3 separate regions of the Homo sapiens genome follow, and regions 1 and 2 are each linked to region 3. The links are contacts of gene promoters, found by promoter capture Hi-C in blood cells and fetal thymus (Javierre and others, 2016). All regions are on one chromosome and are shown on one strand. Each heading gives the region's core, a stretch centred on a gene start or on the middle of the fragment in contact. The rest is flanking DNA. Distances are from core to core; before and after follow the strand shown. Region 1 has its middle 22 kb from the start of LAMP2. Region 2 overlaps LAMP2 (lysosomal associated membrane protein 2). Region 3 holds the start of ZBTB33 (zinc finger and BTB domain containing 33).

The links. Contacts are between HindIII fragments. The CHiCAGO score rates a contact against its expected background, and 5 or more counts as called.
Region 1: a contact is called between a fragment that was not itself captured here and the fragment with the promoter of ZBTB33 in region 3, in 1 of 17 cell types (non-activated CD4 T cells). The highest score is 5.4, in non-activated CD4 T cells.
Region 2: a fragment that was not itself captured here is called in contact with the fragment with the promoter of ZBTB33 in region 3 in 1 of 17 cell types (M1 macrophages); the score reaches 6.6 in M1 macrophages.

What each region holds. Positions count from the first base shown.
Region 1 is chrX:120,489,325-120,492,747 of GRCh38, forward strand. No RefSeq gene overlaps it. Among named protein-coding and RNA genes, the nearest start is that of LAMP2, 22 kb to the left of the region's middle. The HindIII fragment of the contact is 6,082 bases long and covers 1-3,423 here.
Region 2 is chrX:120,432,185-120,435,215 of GRCh38, forward strand. The region is part of intron 8 of LAMP2 (lysosomal associated membrane protein 2); the gene reads right to left. Among named protein-coding and RNA genes, the nearest start is that of LAMP2, 36 kb to the right of the region's middle. The HindIII fragment of the contact is 600 bases long and covers 1,008-1,607 here.
Region 3 is chrX:120,249,250-120,252,339 of GRCh38, forward strand. ZBTB33 (zinc finger and BTB domain containing 33) reads left to right here and starts at 1,563. Exons shown (of 3, transcript NM_001184742.2): 1 at 1,563-1,728. It also overlaps a transcript of TMEM255A not described here. RefSeq lists an enhancer at 1,270-2,108. The HindIII fragment of the contact is 5,064 bases long and covers 1-2,258 here.

The sequences.
Region 1 (3,423 bases), core at 638-3,137, 240 kb after region 3:
TCATCATCATGATATTACTATTCTAGGATGTTGGTTAAGACCACGTGGAGTTATTAAATGGGACTCAGTTTAAGAAATAATAGGCTGGGCCTGGCAGCTCACACCTGTAATCTCAGTACTTTGGGAAGCCGAGGTGGGAGGATCACTTGGGCCCAGGATTTCGAGACCATACAATGAGACCCCATCTCTACAAAAAATAAAATAAAAACTAGCCAGGCATGGTAGCATGTGCCTATCTATAGTCCCGGCTACTGGGGAGGCTGAGGTTAGAGGATGGCTTGAGCCTGGGAAGTTGAGGCTGCAGTGAGCCGTGGTTGCACCACTGCATTCAAGCCAGAGTGACAGAGTACGACCTTTTCTCAAACAAACAAACAAACAAAAAGAAATGATAATCTAGTGAGAAGTAGTATAACCAGGATGACTCTACATTCTCATTTTGCCTGGGACAGTCTCAGTTTATATCCATTGTCCCACATCTCATCCAATTTAGCATTTGTCTCACATGTTTTTCATTTTTGAACTAAATATTACTCTCAATAGTTCCACTAAAATAATTTGGTTTGAGTTTAGTAGATCTCCACTTTGAACTTCCAGTTTCTACAGAGTTCTCATTTTGGCTCTCACCTGATTAAATCTGAAAAACAACCACTGATAATCTCTCTTTTCCTTACCCTTTCCAGAAATAACATAACTAACCTCCCCATCAAGGAAAGCAGGCGGAGGAACTCATTGATAAAAGGAAATATGCCCAGACATCAGCAGTTAGGGACTGATAACAACCTCAGATCTCATGTAGTGGTGGAGGAAGTATCTGACACTGTTCAGCTGCCTGCCACTTGGAGTACTGGCCAGTGGTTCTTTGGCCTGTGAGTTCCATGTGTGTTTCAGAAGCCATCAGGTCAGACTTGGAACCAACCCAAATGCCCATCAATGATAGACTGGATAAAGAAAATGTGGCACATATACACCATGGAATACTATGCAGCCATAAACAAGAATAACATCATGTCCTTTGCAGGGACATGGATGAAGCTGGAAGCCATCATCCTCAGCAAACTAACACAGGAACAGAAAACCAAGCACCGCATGTTCTCACTCATAAGTATGAGTTGAACAATGAGAACACATGGACACAGGGAGGGGAACATCACACACCGGGGCCTGTTGAGGGGTTGGGGGGAAAGGGGAGGGAGAGCATTAGGACAAATACCTAATGCATGCGGGACTTAAAACCTAGATGATGGGTTGATAAGTGCAACAAACCACCATGGCACATGTATACCTATGTAACAAACCTGCACGTTCAGCACATGTATCCCAGAACTTAAAGTTAAAAAAAGAAAAGAAAAGAAAAGAAGCCATCAGGTCGCCAGTTAGCAGGGTCAATGGGAAATGTGGGCAATTATAGGTAAGGTGTACCTGTATAGACATAGGAAATAGAGGCTGAGCATACCAGCCACAGAAGATATAGAGAGCAGTCTGAAAATTCTCACAACAGTGGTTGTATAATTTACGCATGGTGTAAATATACAACTATGTATTGATTGATAATGCTTTTTTATTTTGTTATAAACCTTCTTAGCAGTAATGAGCTCAAATAAATGAAAGTACATGTTTACTGAAAATTTAGGTACTGGCGGGCATGGTGGCTCATGCCTGTAATCCCAGCACTTTGGGAAGTTGAAGCTGGAGTTTCGCTTGCACTCAGGAGTTTGAGGCTGCAGTAAGCTATGATTGCACCACTGCACTCCAGCCTGGGCAACAGAGCAAGACTCCATCTCTAAAAAAAAGCAGGTACTAAATTTGGTGATGTACATGTAACTTGCACAAAATGTCTATTGATGTTTACCACTGTGAGGGCCACAGTGATATAACTGACCACACAAAACCCAGAAGGCAATGGTCTGTTGAGGAAGCATCAGCATCTACCTCATAAGGCAGTAGTTATTTTAAGAATGTGCTTAAGGACCACAGGTTTACATATAACTCTATTCAACGTGATTCTCATCTAGATCAAATGACTGTTCTTCTAAATTCATTTTGCTCAATTTTTATTCCAACTTTCCTTGTGCACATACAAAAAGTGAAGTTGTAGCTATTAAGGTGTTGGCTGCATTAGCCAAACAGTTTAATGATGCCGACCTTATATCGGTGTCCTCAGGTGCTTCAAATAGAAGTTAAATTAATAGTGATACATTTATTTCATCCAATGTATGAAATCAAAATAACAATTTTGGAACTGATTTCTGTTGAAGAGAAGACATCTGACAGCATCATAAACGCTGTTGTAATATAAACAAGATAAAATCCTAAGCCCCCTGCCGAATGAACAGACCACTTCTTGGCCAAGAGGACCCCAGAAAAACCTTAAAACTGAGTTCCTGGCCATGATGGGATGATAGGTCAGACACGTCTTGTTATACCCTCTCCCTTATATGGTTTTGACACAACCAACCAACACTAATGTTAAAATAGAAACTGTAAGACTGACACAATACCCTCTTTGTGGCAATAAGATATGAAATTATAAACAGGACCTAAGGCCATGCCAGGCAAGGGTTAAGGAGGAAGGGTTGGGGTAGGAGCTTTATGCTAAAGAGGTTGGCTAAAGTTATATGTACGCAACAGCTTACAGGAGGAGTTATGAATATTCATGAAGGTGGTCTTGACGCATGCATATTGAACAAACATGCATATACGACTATGCTCTAACTGTCTCAAGGTTTTTCTTTTTCTCTAGCAGCTAAACAAGCACTGGTCTTGAGATAATATTAAAACAATTACAACTCATCTAGCTCACAGACCCTGACTAACTGAACCTCTGTTCCCCCAGCCGTAATTACATCTTTAATTGGACAACAGACTGATTTTAGCAACTTTCTCCTGATAAGATCTCCCACCATGGACTGGTTCTGGCCGGTTTACAGAGGCTGTGCACTTGCATGCTTACATGTCCTGAAAAGATCTTCTGTGTATAGGACCTAATTGTAATACATTTAAATGTTAAGTCTCAGCCCAGCGTGGTGGCTCACTCCTGTAATCCCAGCACTTTGGGAGGCCAAGGCGGGCAGATTACTTGAGGTCAGGAGTTCAAGACCAGCCTGGCCAACATGGTGAAACCCTGTTTCTACTAAAAATACAAAACTTAGCCAGGCATGGTGACAGATGTCTGTAATCCCAGCTACTTCGGAGGCTGAGGCAGGAGAATCACTTGAACCCAGGAGGCGGAGGTTGCAGTGAGCTGAGATTGCACCACTGCACTCCAGCCTGGGTGACAGAGCAAGACTCTGTCTCAAAATAAAATAAAATAAAATAAAATAAATGTTAAGTCTCCACCCCAAAGTGAAAATTGGTCATATATGCATGTTTGTTCAATATGCATGCATCAAGACCACCTTCATGAATATTCATAGCTCCTCCTGT
Region 2 (3,031 bases), core at 58-2,557, 180 kb after region 3:
CAAGTAATGGGGGAAGGGCATTCCAGGTATAAGAAATAGCACAGACAAAAATATGGAGAGTAAAAAGACATAGCACTTCAAGGGAAACGCAAGCAGGTTGGCAGAGCTAGAACAATGGATCAAAAGGTATTTTTGGCTGGATAGAAGGCAGAAAAAGTGTGCAGGGACCCAGGTCACAAAGGTACTATATGCTCTTAGGTAGTCTGGCCTTATCCTGATGAAAAAAAAATTCAGCAGCAGGATATTAAGCAGGATTTCATTTCAGAAGTTATGGCAGATGGAGGTAGTAAGGTAGGACATATCTTTATCACTAGAGTCCAGGTAACCAATAATATTGTCCTGAGCTGGATTAATGAAGTGCAGAAGAAAAGCAGAAGGCACAGACTGGAGATCAAATTAGAAGGCAAAATTGACCAAACGGATGTAGGGGGTGTACGAGGAGGAGATAATAGAATGGTTTCCAATTCCACACTTGACTGATTATGTAGATGCTGGTGCCATTCTATAAAAGAGGAAGAATATATGCATTTCAGTTTTTTGTAGTTATATGGAACAGGTGGTAAAAAGGATACGTGGAAGAGAGAGATGCTCAGTTTTAGATATGTGAGTTTAAGATATCTGTGTCCTTAGTTGAGCATGGTAGCTTACGCCTGTAGTCCTAGCTACTTGGGAAGCTGAGATGGGAGAACTGTTTGAGCCCAGGAGTTCAAGACCAGCCTGGGCAGCATATCGAGAACCCATCTCAAAAAAAAAAAAAAAATCACTATGTCCTAACCAAGTGGCTATATGAACCTAAGTGGTAGTTAAAACATGGGCAAGAACATTTCTCAGTAAGGGGAAGTAGAATAAAAAGAGGATCAGAGACAAAAACCCTTGGGAACACCAATACCTGTGGGATAGACAATGGAGTAGGAAAAAGATGTAAAAGGGCAGATAGAAAATGGCGCCAGAGAAGCTAAGGATGGAACGTTTCAATTAAGGTGGAAAGACAGCAAATAATAGTAGAAAGCTTTGAAACATGTCCATTGCCTCTAGCAATATGAAGGGTGGGAGATATGAGTAAAATTGCTGCAGGTTTAAGAGGGAATGGGAAGTGATTGGTTAGGACATCAAGAACTTGGGCAGGGTAACAAATACAATACTCATTTTGAGAAGTTTAGAATGATTAAGGCAGGACAAAAGGGAGGTAATTAGAAGGGGGACATAGGGACAAGAAAGGATAGCTTAAGGTTAGAAGAACTTAAATAGGATGAGGGAAACAGCCATTAGCAATTGACAGAAGATGCTGAATGGTACAAGTTCTCCTACAAGTTAAGAGATTGAATTCCAAAAGCGTAAGACATTAAGAACTCAATACATAACAATCTGGGGTCACTTAGTAATGGGAAAAGAGATATAAATGGGCCTTGATGACATAACTGTTTGCCTCAGTTTAACCAGGAAAAGAAAACCTACTCTGAGACTGGAGAGGAGGAAGGAATGCTACAGATGGATACACTTGCAGGAAAGAAGTTAACTGCTATTTCTATTTCCCATTTCCTGTGTCTTGTTGCCCTAGTTCTCTGCCTAGCTTGCAGTCTACCAGGGACTGATAAATCAGATAACTAAGCTTATTAGAATTGTATCAAAGATAGGACAAATAGGCTGCATGGCAATTCTGATTGTGCTTGCATTCAAGAAATGTGCCAAGCTTTCCCCGCCGCCCCCACTAGCCTCTGGGGCAATAACTAGGAACAAAATGCAACCCTGGAGTTTATAAACTTTTCTGACATTGACTTGGGCTGCCAGTTCAATTATTTGTTTTACTTGCTTCTTGGTTCTGTTAAGAATCCAGAGAGCTGAGGCTGCCAGATGTGACCTGTGAATAGATGGTGTTAAGAATCCCCAGTTAGCACCTCCCCTACAATTTCCCAAATTACCACCCAGCCCATAAACTATTAGGTGACATGTACCATAAAGTATTATGCCGTGGGTTTAATATAACTTGGTTTTTTAAAAATTCATTAGTAGATTAATTTCTTATTCTGGCAACAGACTCATAGTTCTCTCTTTCCCAAATTGGGTATTTGACCTAGTACTGAAACGACTTTCATAAATACTGCCAATAAGGCTTTCATGTAAGACAAATATTCTCAGAGTAGCTCAAAAAGGCAATTCCGCTAATACAAAGATCTTTCTAGATACTGTCATTTACTTAAAATGCTCTCAATTAGTATGTGAAATATTAATTTATAATAACTATTGATTGTATGAATTCAACCTTTAAAAATTATTTAGTTAATGGAAAAAATGTTGGTAAAACAGTAACTTTAATGGGATCACATTCTGAAGAAAAGAAAATCTCATCCTATAAGTCATTTTGATCTGATCTACTTGCCTAATGTATACTTAACGCTGTATTGAAAATGCTTCTGGGGAAAAGAGAAGTGTATTTGCAGAAGAATTTAATAGCCACAGAAGCAATAAAGATTTTTAAAGATTAAAAAGTTCCATGGCCACTAAAATTTCAGTAAGAAGTTTCATGTAGATTAAAAATGCTGTTAATCTTCAATTTTCTGCCAGTTCAGACATTTTTCAAACACAATTTTCAACACAAGAACTGGAAAGCTGAGGTATACATTTACAACAAAAACTAATAAAACTTCTCTTAAAAACCAGTTGAGGCCAGGCACAGCGTTTCATGCCTATAATAACAGCAGTTCAGGAGGTCGAGGTAGGCAGATCACTTGAGGTCAGGAATTCGAGACCAGCCTGGCCAACATGGCAAAACCCCATCTCTACTAAAAAAATAAAAAGGTAGCCAGGTGTGGTGGCACTCGTCTGTAATCCCAGCTACTTGGGAGGCTGAGGCATAAGAATTGCTTGAACCTGGGAGGCGGAGGTTGCAGTGAGCTGAGATCACACCACTATACACACCCAAGCCTGGGCAACAGAGCGAGACTCCATCTCAAACAAAACAAAACAAACAAACAAACGAGTCAAAACTTCTTTTTGGAAGGATCCACATTAAGAAGCACATTCTTAGGTGATA
Region 3 (3,090 bases), core at 313-2,812:
TGCTAAGTCCTAATCAAAAATCAATAATGCAATAATTCCCACATAGTTTGTTTTCCCACAATACAAAATCTTGGAGAAGAGCTTAAGGAATTGCATATTTCCATGTGAAATACAGCTATATTATACCACTTTGATGTTTTATTATACCATGTGGCTTTACTTTATTGAGGAGGATGAAGAATAGATTAGGGATAGGTAGATGAGATGATGACATCCATGTCTGATTTCCTGTCAGAGAAAATTAGATATAGTTACATCTGTTTTCAGTCTAATATCCTGATGGACATTTTCAGCAAGATTTTTTAGGAAAGAAGCACAGGAATTCCACTGCAAGGTATTAATAGGTACAAATTTAAGATTTTGGAAATGAATGCAGTATTATCCTATATATATCTTTTTAAAAAGATAATGAAGGTAGTGAATGGCCTTAATTATGGCAGAAAAAAAGTTACTATTTGGTTCCTTAGTTGAATACGATCAATAACCAGCCTAAAAGGGAAACATTTTGCTCTCCAAACACCCATCCTGTTGCTTCATTTATTATGGTACTCAGTTGGAAGGGTATTACCAGAGGATTTTAAAAAATTATGTAACTCACAATGTATTTTTTCGGTCATTAAACAATCACTGAACACATACTATGTGTCAGACACTAAAGCCCTCTGAAGATGAAATGTTATGGAAATAGTAATAATAAAAAATTAAAATAGTAACAATAAAAAATTAAAAATGCAAGTGTTAATATTATTAATCTTTCAAGATACAGGTCAAATGACAGCATTCAATTTGCTATTCTCTTCTCTCTGCTTCTACACCTTGTACAAATATTTTTGTCCATGTTTGTGTACCTACCTACTGAGCTCCCTAAAGAGGTAGAGACCTTTGGGTTATTCATTTTTGTATTCCCGAGAGCCTAACATAGGGTTTTTGCTACAGATCAAGCAGGGGGTCAGTAAATGCTAGTTGGAATGAGGGAATTAACATAGTACTGCACCATTTAGTATTCAATTAAGAAGATAGTTGTCCAAACACTAAATTTCTTTCTTAAAAGTAGTTACTGTAATGTAGTTGCTCTCTTGTTATCCCAGAACTTGAATTACCATAAGAAGTTGTGAATTTCTATTTGATTGTATGTATTTTGATTATATTTCAAGATGGTTTATCATCTAGCAAACAGTCTAATAGAGCAGATTCAAACTTGCAAAATAAATGAAACCTGTATAGTCTCTAAAAGTTTGTATGCCCTAGAAGTTCACATTGAATTTCGATGAAAACGACTCGCTTCCCTTCCATCCAATTGCTTGCGACTGTCTTACCCGATCTTTCCCTTTCCTTTTTTCCCACCCGTTAGCCCTCCGGAAAGAGCCGAACACACAAGAGCTTCCCAGTCTTCCTCCGCCCCCTTGCGGAAAGAACCGAAGGCAGAGCACGGCGCCGAAGTGGAGCCGCCTCAAGCTCGGGCCCTTCCGGACCACCCCGGCCTGCGCTCGGAAGAGGAGGGCGCCTTTGGCTTCAGCGCTTCGCCCCCGCGCTGTGCCCTCTGTCGGCGGCGTGGGGCAGCTGTAGCAGCGTTGGCGGCAGGAGGCGGCGGCCGCGTCGACGTCGACCCAGACTGGAGCGACGTTTAAAGAAGGGGCAGAATCGCTGGGGAGTGCGGCTTCTTCTTGTTGGGGGACTCCCAGCCTTCCGCGCGTCCGGAGGAGGAGAAGCGGCGGCGCCGGGAAGCAGGTGAGGACCCGGCCCCAATCAGGGAGGGGGCGAAGGAGCGCGCTTGCCTTCTCCGTCCCTGGGCCGCGCCTGCGTTTGCATTCGCCTCACTTGAACCAGGAAGCGGCAGAGTCGGAGGCTCAGCTCCTCCGGCTCTTTCTTTGTGTGGGCCGGGGAGCGAAGGAGGGGACGAGCCGCGAGGGCCGCGGCGCGGTCCCCTTCGCCGTTAGGGGCCGAGGGGCTGCCGGTGCCCTGGGTAGGCCCCGGGGCTTGGGGAATCCATCACAGAGACCCACTTGGCTTTTCCCTCGCCCCTCTCGCTGCTTTTTTGTGCCTCTTTTACTCCCCTAGCCCCTACTTTGATTTAGAGCTTTTCTGCCAGGCCCATCCTCCCCTTCCGTCCCCTTCCCGGGGCACAACAATGCCGCCTGCTTCGCTTCATCCCCCCCCCAACACCCCACCCTGCCGTTCGCCACCTTCTACTTTCCCTGGTACCCCATATTCCTCCCGCCCTCACTCTGCTGTTTGTACCTCCGTCTGTATTTGCAAGAAGCTTGCTTTGCACGTGAATTGGGGTTAAAAACCTCGGTTGCAGCTGGCAGGGTCCATATGGGGAAGAGGGAGGTGGAGGAAGGGAGATGAGGTTCAGCTGCCGCAGGGAGCCGCGTGTCGGTTTGTTTCACTCCCTCGCGGATGGCTTTTATCTCTTTCCACCGTCACCAGCTCCTCCGAACTGGCCCTCGGTCAAGGGTTTCACAGTGATGTGGAATGGCTTTTCCACAGTCGAATCGCATATCTTCGGAGTGGGTTCAGACCGACTTGTGCTGTCTCTGGGGCCACCCTGAGTGGGAGGAGGGGGACACATAAACGAAACGAAACCGAGTCCCAGTGTCACCTGGACACGTACATTTGACGCATTCCCATATTGGAAGAACCCGGGAGCAAATGACAAAAATTGCGTGCCGTTTTCAGAAAACCTGTCTTTCCACTTAATATCGACTTCTGTCGAAATGCCCGTATTTCGGAAGCCCTGGTTTTTGGCAAACTGTCCAAAGGTCACCCTTTCTGATGATGAATGCCTTTATGGTAACCTGGAATTCCTTGGTACTGTTAACATGCAACACCTTCTAATAATGTTTTAAATCTTGATTTTTAGACTTTTTGCCTGCTGTTTGTTCTTAAGGTATCATTTTGAAAAATTTAGAAGGTATTTGAGACAGAACTGCCCTCCACCTGTATATAACTTAAGCATTGTGACATCGACACCCTTTTGGTAACTTCAAAGGGAGAGAATATTAATAAAAATATTTCTTCACTAAAAGTACTTGTCAACTAATTGTTAATATATAATATCCATATATTAAAATATATCCATATATAATA